Regions from separate parts of the Homo sapiens genome. Here regions 1 and 3 are each linked to region 2. Evidence: promoter capture Hi-C in human tissues and cell types (Jung and others, 2019). All regions are on one chromosome and are shown on one strand. Each heading gives the region's core, a stretch centred on a gene start or on the middle of the fragment in contact. The rest is flanking DNA. Distances are from core to core; before and after follow the strand shown.

Region 1 (3,034 bases), core at 464-2,963, 230 kb after region 2:
CGCCTCCCACTCTTGCTCCTTCCGCTGTCTCGCGCGATCTGGGTGCCGGTGCACGGAACTCTCGCGAGGAAGGAGGTAAGAACGCGCTTCCGGGGCGGGGAGGAACGGTAAACGCCCCCGGGAGGGGCGACGGAAGGGGCGTGCTCTTGGCCGGGCGAGGGGCGTGGCCCGCGCACCTCGGGCGTCTAGGGGCGTGCGCCGCGGGACTCGAGTCGGGCGTATCTCTCCGCGTGGCCGACGCGGGCGTGCGTAGTACCCTTCGCCGCCCGTCGCCCTTGCGGCCACTGCTACGCTTCTCTTCTCTGCCTTTTTTGGAGAAAACGCTGTCGCGTGCGTCGTCCAGAGGCTCTCCCCCAGGAGGCAGGCGAAAGAGCGGGGCCCTCCTGGGCTGGAGGAGTCTCGGGTGATGAAAGGCCCGCGTGTTTCAGGCTGACGTCGTGAGATGCGTCGTCCCCGCGTCGCGACATCCCTGGGACCGGGAGGCCCCGTTCAATTGGCAGCTTTTTCTCCTTCCAGGGAACCGATGACCCTAGGTTGGCTGACATCAGTCGCTAGACCCGCAGCCCGCAGGCCCCGTTAGTCCCTGAACTGGCTTTCATGGCCCAAGGTGTCTGTCAGTACTGCTGGGAAAGCTGCCTGTCCTGGACATTTGCCATCTGCTGCACCCAGTCCCGAGACCCCAACTCGGTCATCCGAAGAAGCCACATCTGTAAGCTCAGGCACCTTCAGCTGCCTAAGGCCACAAGGCATCCCGGGCAGGCCTCCTTTCAACCCTGGGAACATTTAGAATTTAATACAGACACTTCTACTTAAATAGGGCAGAATATTCCCCGCCTCCCTCCTGAAACCTTCCAAAATTATAGGAAAGGGGTTTTATAAAGACAAACCCTGCAAGGGCAAAGAGCTGGGATATTGCAGAGCTTAAGAAAGGTGGACAGCGAGAGCTACTCCAGCCCACTTGGCTATGGAGGCCAGTGTCTGAGGGTCGTGGGTGAAAGCACAGCTACAGAAAGGAAACCCCAGACCTCTGTCCCTACCCACCGGGGCTGGCAGGCACTGCAGTGTCTGAGACGTGAGCTCCAGGAGAGGAGCTCTGAGGCCCTGCTCAAGCAAGGCCCTGTCTGAAAGCCTGGGAGTAAGTGAGACTCTGGGTCCTACCCCTGCCTCCACCCCTGGGCTGGGTCTGACCACCCGCATGCCATCAGGCTTCTCAGAGAAGAGGGCTCCTCTCTGCAGCAGCTCCTAGCTCAAAAGAAAAGACTGGCAGGGCACCTAGGGGTAGAGTGTTGCCCAGTAGAATGGCCCAGCCAGATCCCTGGCCTCGAAGCTCACCAGGTCATAAGCCCCAGCCACTAAAAGCATCTCACTCTTCAATGCAGCTGGACAGCCCAGGATCACCAGACACCTGAGAAAGAAGAAAAGGGACTCAGAAGAAACAGAGACGATAAAGGAAGCCGAAGAAAAATGAAAACTAAAATGCCATTCTCAGTCAATAAAAAGGAACTGGGGGCTATAGAGAAAGAAACCTCGGGATGAGAAAGAGCTCTTAGAAATAAAACATGAGGGGAAAGTGAGCAATTCAATAGGCTTTTAAGATGAAGTCTTCCAGAATGTATAATGACAGAACCAGATAGCTGGAAAACAGAATAGCAGTAACACAGGTGGGTGCTCTTAGGGCTAGCCTGGCACACAAGGCCTCCACAATGGAGGGGGTGGATGGGAGGTGGGGGGCTGGTCTGCCACCACCACCAGGGGAAGCCACAGGCACCACCCTCTGGGGACAGCTTCCCTTGGCAATAATGTGCACGCAGGATGCATGGTGCCCAGGACTGTTCTTACACACATTCATTCATGGGATCCTCACAACCCAGTGCTATGCAATGGATACAGCTGTTACCCCATTTTTACTGATGGGCAACATCACAAGGCAGGGAGCAGCAGTAGAATGGCTCCAGAGCCTGTGTTCTTGCCACCACCATGACTGCATCTCAAAAGAGAAGTCCAGGTCAGGCACAGTGGCTCATGCCTGCCTTCCCAGCACTTCAGGAGGCTGAGGCAGGAGTATCACTTGGGCCCAGGGGTTCAAGACCAGCTTGGGCAATATAGTGAGGCCACGTCTCTACAAAAAGTAATTTTAAAAAACCAGCTGGGCATGGTGGCACACGCCTGTAGTCCTAGCTACTAGAGAGGCTAAGGTGGGAGGATTGCTGGAGCCCAGAAGGTGGAGGTTGCAGTGCCCTGTGATCACACCACTGCACTCCAGCCTGGGTGACAGAGCCAGACCCTGTCTCAAAAAAACAACAAAAACTCAACAGAAGTCCAACATCTAAATAAATTGTCCAGAAAATAAGGAAATGAGAGAAATCAGCAGAGATAAATCAAGAAAATTTCCTAGAACCAAACAGTCATGTTTTCTGAACAATGGGTGAAAGGGAAGTTGTATATCAAGACACATCATTGAGAATTACCCAAGTAATGGGGCAAAGAAAAAGAAGAGATCATAGGTAAAGAGTCAGAATTCAGGAAGGCACAAGAGTTCTTGGAACTAGAAGAAAATGACACAATACCCTTGAAATCCTGGGAATAAATGATTTTCAACCAAGCCAAGCTTTTTGTAGCTAGTCGCACTGTTAAGCATATGTGAGGTTAGCATAAAGACTGTGGGGAAAAGCAAGAGAGATCAGATTGTTACTGTGTCTGTGTAGAAAGTAGTAGACATAGGAGACTCCATTTTGTTTTGTACTAAGGAAAATTCTTCTGCCTTGAGACTCTGTTAATCTATGACCTTACCCCCAACCCCGTGCTCTCTGAAACATGTGCTGTGTCAACTCAGAGTTGAATGGATTAAGGGCGGTGCAAGATGTGCTTTGTTAAACAGATGCTTGAAGGCAGCATGCTCCTTAAGAGTCATCACCACTCCCTAATCTCAAGTACCCAGGGACACAAAAACTGCGGAAGGCCGCAGGGACCTCTGCCTAGGAAAGCCAGGTATTGTCCAAGGTTTCTCCCCATGTGATAGTCTGAAATATGGCCT
Region 2 (2,783 bases), core at 141-2,640:
GCTGACGCCAGTGCACGGCACAGCCCAGGTACTCTTTGTCCATCATCAAGCACGTGTGCCCACCTGTGCTAAACCTTGCAGCCTCACCCAGCAACCCGGGAGCAAAGCCCAGAGGGCCTAGTCCTCCAGAGGAGGCGGGAGGCAGCGGGGGCTCTGTCGGCTGGGCGCTCACTCTGCCAGCACTGACTGCGTGTGAACCCTGCAGCAGCCCAGGGGAGATGCTGCTGTCTCACAGGATTGGCACTGCGCCCAGAAAGCCTCTACAGAGGCAGGTCTAGGAGCCTGGCTGGGCCTGAGGCATGTGGTGAGAAGGCGAAGGTGAGCGTCTACTTCCTCAGAGGACGCTCGGGGGCTCCTTCCACACCTGCCCAGCCCCTCAGCTGCATCCCCCACCCCCAGAACGGGGCTGGGCACACACGGGCTCCGGAAGTAACCAACTGCCTGCGAGCCAGCTGCTTAAGGCTCATGGGGTCCAGATGACGGGGTGGGCGGAGCTGTAGAAGGAGGCTGCTCAGGTGAGATGGCCTGGCCTGCCTCCCTGGGAGGTGAGCCGCAGGCAGTGTCAACTTAAGAAGCACCCCGCCCTGTCGGGCAGGGACAACCCCAAGTTTAGCTACACAGTTCTTCTGCTGCCAGGCGGTCCTTCATTCTGGAAACCAATCCTGACGTCTCATCAGGTCCCCAACCCACTCCGCCCCCTTTGCCTTCTTCCTTCCACTTAAAGCCTCTGAAAGTACTACTTCTTAGCAACAGCATCCCCGCCCCCTTCAGAGACTGCCCGACCACCCTATCCAAATCAAGAGACAGAAATTTTGACCCAGTCACAGTACAGGCTTATTCCTTTCCGTGCTCACTAGCGTCTAAGTTCCAAAAGTGTTGCGTCCGTGCCTATCCCCTCCGTGCTCAGCTGATGCGTGCAGTAACTGGTGCTTGACAAAGACGTGGTGTACGAAGGTCTGCAGGCCAGAGAAACAGCTGGGGCAGATGTCTGGTCTCCCACGGAGACGGCAGCAAACACAGGCCTTAGGCCCCAGCAGCCTGGCCGAGGGGCTTCCACGACCGGGATGCGCCGTGAGACAGTGCTCCCGGCGCCCCCGTCCCGCGGACGCCCTCCAAGCCGGCCACGTGGCCTCCGTCGCCCCGCCTCTCTGCGCTCGCCCCAAGTGCCGCACTTGGCCCACGGCCCCTAAGCCCGCGCTGGCGCACTTGTGCCTCAGTCCCTAACGGCGCGAGCTTCTGGCGCAGCCCGGGCCGCCCGCCCTCCCGGCCCCTCGGGCGTCTCTGTCGCGCCCGACTCCTTCCGGCGGGGGCCGCGGTACTCACACGCCAGCCAAGGACGCGGCGACCAAGGAGGAGGAATCGGCGGACGCGGGAAGACTGATGAAAGGGAGGGCCGCCCGGGCCGCGCACGGGAAATGAAGCACTGGGCTCTACCAAGAGCCACGGGCCGGGGGCCCGGGGGGGGGACGCGACCCTTGCACACGCCCCGCCTGGCCGCCAGGACCCTCGACGCGCCGTGCCCCGACACTTCAAAGGCAGAATTCCGTTGGAGATGACCGCGGAGGCCGCTCTTCCCCGGAGGAGTCTGCACAAGTGCTGGGAACGGGCGGCAGCGCGCGCGCCCCCCCTGCGCTTCGCGGCCAGTGGTGTCGCCGGTGGGGGCGGGTCCGGCAGCCGGCAAGCGCCGAGTGACGCACGAGGCGGCCAGCGCGCAGGCGCGGGGCGGGGCCGGGCCGGGCTAGGTCAGCGCGCGTGCGCCCGCCAAGCTGCGGGACAAAGGGGAGGGACCCGTGCGGCCCCGCCCCCGAGTGCCCCGCCCCGAGCGGCTGGGCGTGTGGCTCCCGCGACCCGCGCGGCCCGGGTCCCCCCCGCCGCAGCCATGTACCCCGCGGGCCCCCCGGCCGGCCCGGTACCGCGCCGCGGCCGCCGTCCCCTGCCCGGGCCCCCCGCGCCCGCCCCAGCCCCCGTCCCCGCTGCACGGCCGCCGCCCCCCGCGCCCGGGCCGCGGCCCCGCGTGGCCGTGAAGATGGCCTTCCGCAAGGCCTACTCCATCAAGGACAAGCTGCAGGCCATCGAGCGCGTCAAGGGCGGCGAGCGGCAGGCCAGTGTGTGCCGCGACTTCGGCGTGCCGGGCGGGACGCTGCGCGGCTGGCTCAAGGACGAGCCCAAGCTGCGCTGGTTCCTGGAGCAGCTGGGCGGTGAGGTGGGCACTCAGCGCAAGAAGATGCGGCTGGCCAACGAGGAGGAGATCGACCGCGCCGTGTACGCCTGGTTCCTGGCGCTGCGCCAGCACGGGGTGCCGCTGTCTGGCCCGCTCATCCAGGCGCAGGCCGAGGCCTTCGCGCGCCAGATCTACGGGCCCGAGTGCACCTTCAAGGCCAGCCACGGCTGGTTCTGGCGCTGGCAGAAGCGCCACGGCATCTCCAGCCAGCGCTTCTACGGCGAGGCCGGGCCCCCAGCCCCGAGCCCCGCGCCCGGCCCGCCCGTCAAGGAGGAGCCCGCGCTGCCCTCCGGCGCCGGCCCCCTGCCCGACCGCGCCCCGGCCCCGCCGCCCCCGGCCGAGGGCGGCTACGGGGACGAGCAGATTTACAGCGCCAGCGTCACCGGCCTCTACTGGAAGCTGCTTCCGGAGCAGGCTGCGCCCCCGGGCGCAGGGGACCCCGGGGCGGGGGGCTGTGGCCGGCGCTGGCGGGGCGACCGCGTAACGGTGCTGCTGGCCGCAAACCTGACCGGCAGCCACAAGCTGAAGCCGCTGGTCATCGGGCGGCTGCCGGACCCGCCCA
Region 3 (3,156 bases), core at 224-2,723, 180 kb after region 2:
GAGGCAGGAGAATGGCGTGAACCCAGGAGGCGGAGCTTGCAGTGAGCCAAGATCGCACCACTGCACTCCAGCCTGGGTGACAGAGTAAGACTCCGTCTCAAAACAAAAAAAAAAAAGATGGATTGTCATTTTGGATTAAAAATTGTAGCTAACTATGTTCTACCTATAAGAAACAAGCTTTAAATGTAAAAGCACAAATAGTTGAAAATTAAAATGATAAAAACAAATATGCCAAGATAACACTAAACAGGATGCTGAAGTAACTGTATTAACATCAAGTAGATTTCAGAAAAAAGTATGTTACTAAGGATAAAAGAATCATTTAGTAATGACAAATGTAGGAATTCATCATGAGGACATAAAAATCCTAAATGTTCATGCAGCTACTAACAGGGTTTCAAAATGCATGAAGCAAAAACTATGAGAACTACAAGGAGAAATAAAGAGATCCACAATGGTAATAGGCGATTTTGCCATCTCTCTCTCCCCATAATTGATGAGACAAGTAGACGGAATATCAGCGATGATACCGAAGAGCTGAACCACGCTGTCCATCACCATCCCTTCATCATTCATCAGTCATCGTTTCCATACATTCACCCACTTCATCCATCTCGCCCCAGTATTGGTTTGCGCTTTCGCCAATTCATAATTATCTTATTAACTTGAGTCATTTATTTATTTATTTAGAGATGGAGTCTTGCTCTGTCACCCAGGCTGGAGGGCAGTGGCGCAATCTCACTGCAACCTCTGCCTCCCGGGTTTATGCGGTTCTCCTGCCTCAGCCTCCAGAGTAGCTGGGACTACAGGCATGCGCCACCACGCCCAGCTAATTTGTTCTTTTGTATGTTAAGTAGAGATGGGGTTTTGCCATGTTGGCCAGCTGGTTTCGAACTCCTGACCTCAGGTGGGCTGCCTGCCTCGGCCTCCCAAAGTGCTGGGATTACAGGTGTGAGCCACCATGCCCAGCCATGAGTCATTTATTTATAAACTTATAAATAAATTTATAAGCTTATATATAAATTTATGAACTTATAAACATATATAAATTTATAAACTTATAAGCTATCCACTCATTAATGTGCCCATTCCACCCTTACACCATGTTTAAATAATTATTCACTTATTTTTTATCTACTATTCATTCAGACATCCATTCATCCATTCATACACGCATTCATGCTGTTTACTTGACAGAAAATTATGAGAAAGCAAAGAAGGACTGTGTCTCGTTCACCCCTTAATCGTATGCCCCAGTATTGGTTGACCACGATAGGCACTGAAACATTTTGTTGAACGATGAATTCATCCATCAATTCATCCATCCAGTTGCTCAACTAACCATTTGCTTATCTCACGTATCCATTCTTTACACTCATTCATCTATTAATTTTTCATGTATCAGTTCATCATTTAATCAGTTCATTCAATTAATCTAATCTTCATTCTCTTATAGTTTAATTCATTAATTTACTCATTCATTCATCATTTATTGCCTATTCATTAAGACACTCGTAAGTTTACTCGTTATATTATCCTTTTATTTTCTGTCTTCATTCATTTTCCGTCTACTCCAGTTCTTCCACTTACAGACAGAACTTTGGCAAGTTCTGAAGCTTATTTGAATCTGTTTCCATATATTCAGAAATGGGACTAATAACAGCTTTTTGAAGATTCATGAGATAGTGAATGAAATTCCTTGGCACAATTCCTGGTGCAAAGTCAGTTCTCAAGAAATGGTAGCTATTATTATTTTAAATGAGTATCACAATTTCTTTTAAGTTACAAAATCATTGCCTCATTCGTATGTCTGTTCACTCTTCCATCCTATTTATCTAGTTATCCATTCATCCCTTCTCTCATTTTAGCTACTCCTTGATTTTATACATCTTCAGACTTTCCTTTTTAATTACAAATGACATACAGAATATTGCAGAAATCAAAGTTGTGGCTCAATTATTTACCACAAAGGAAATACTCATGTAGTAACTACCTGACTCAAGAAATAAAGTATCGCCAGAACACCACACCTCTCCCCAGATCATCATATCCTGAATTTTATAGTGCTTGCTTCCTTCTTTTTTTCAAGTTACAAAACTTTCCTGAAATATGTATAAAGTTCCCAGTTTAATCCTCTCAACAAACCTGATTGTAGTATTATTAATATTCCTACATTATATACAAAGACTTTATTATATACAAAGAAACTTAAGCACAGAGATGTTAAGTCATCTTTTTTTAACTTTTCTTTTAGGTTTGGGGGTACATGTGAAGGTTTGTTATGCAGGTGACATAGTCATGGGGATTTGTCGTACAGATTATTTCCTCACCAGGAACTAAGCCCAGTACCCAATAGTTTTCTGCTCCCCTCCCTCCTCCCACCCTCCACCCTCAAGTAGATCCTAGTATCTGTTGTTTCCTTCTTTGTGTTCCTAAGTTCTCATCCTTTAGCTCCCGTTTACAGGTGAGAACATGTGGTGTTTGGTTTTCTGTTCCTGCGATAGTTTGCTGAGGATAATGGCCTCCAGCTCCATCCATGTTCCTGCAAAGGACATGATCTCATTCTTTTTTTATGGCTGCATAGTATTCCACGGTGTGCATGTACCACATTTTCTTTATCTTGTCTGTCACTGATGGGCATTTAGGTTGAGTCCATGTCTTTGCTATTGTGAATAGTGCTGCAGTCAACATATGCGTGCATGTGTCTTTATGGTACACTGCTTTATATTCCTCTGGGTATATACCCAGTAATGGGATTGCTGGGTCCAATGGTAGTTCTGCTTTTAGGTCTTTGAGGAATTCCCATACTGCTTTCCACAGTGGCTGAACTAATTTATACTCCCACCAACAGTGTGTGTGTGTTCCCTTTTCTCCACAACCTCACCAGCATCTGTTATTTTTTGACTTTTTATAGTAGCCATTCTGGCTGGTATGAGATGGTGTATCCTCATTGTGGTTTTGATTTGCATTTCTCTGATGATCAGTGATATTGAGCTTTTTTTCATATGCTTGCTGGCCACATGCATGTCTTATTTTGAAAAGTGTCTGTTCATTTTCTTTGTTCACTTTTTAATGGGGTTTTCTCTTGTAAGTTTGTATAAGATCCTTATAAATGCTGGATGTTAGACTTCTGTCAGATGCATAGTTTGCAGATAT

The links. The method cuts DNA at HindIII sites, captures the fragments that hold promoters and counts their contacts. A contact is called where the count stands out against the background at its distance.
Region 1: a contact is called between a fragment that was not itself captured here and the fragment with the promoter of EEF1D in region 2, in 1 of the 25 tissues and cell types used here (dorsolateral prefrontal cortex).
Region 3: a fragment that was not itself captured here is called in contact with the fragment with the promoter of EEF1D in region 2 in 10 of the 25 tissues and cell types used here (IMR-90 fibroblasts, aorta, dorsolateral prefrontal cortex and 7 more).

Annotation. Positions count from the first base shown.
Region 1 is chr8:143,829,330-143,832,363 of GRCh38, forward strand. LOC107986985 (a long non-coding RNA gene) reads left to right here. Exons shown (of 3, transcript XR_001746138.2): 1 at 1-75; 2 at 517-709; 3 at 1,380-2,602. It also overlaps a transcript of NRBP2 not described here. Among named protein-coding and RNA genes, the nearest start is that of PUF60, 1.5 kb to the left of the region's middle. RefSeq lists a silencer at 1-273 and enhancers at 58-757, 78-1,277. The HindIII fragment of the contact is 6,185 bases long and covers 1-3,034 here.
Region 2 is chr8:143,596,025-143,598,807 of GRCh38, forward strand. EEF1D (eukaryotic translation elongation factor 1 delta) reads right to left here and starts at 1,391. Exons shown (of 10, transcript NM_001130053.5): 1 at 1,324-1,391. It overlaps TIGD5 (tigger transposable element derived 5), which reads left to right and starts at 1,807. Exons shown (of 1, transcript NM_032862.5): 1 at 1,807-2,783. The coding sequence starts at 1,880. RefSeq lists an enhancer at 39-638. The HindIII fragment of the contact is 45,525 bases long and covers 1-2,783 here.
Region 3 is chr8:143,778,096-143,781,251 of GRCh38, forward strand. All of the region lies in intron 7 of IQANK1 (IQ motif and ankyrin repeat containing 1), which reads left to right. Among named protein-coding and RNA genes, the nearest start is that of MIR937, 33 kb to the right of the region's middle. The HindIII fragment of the contact is 4,347 bases long and covers 1-3,156 here.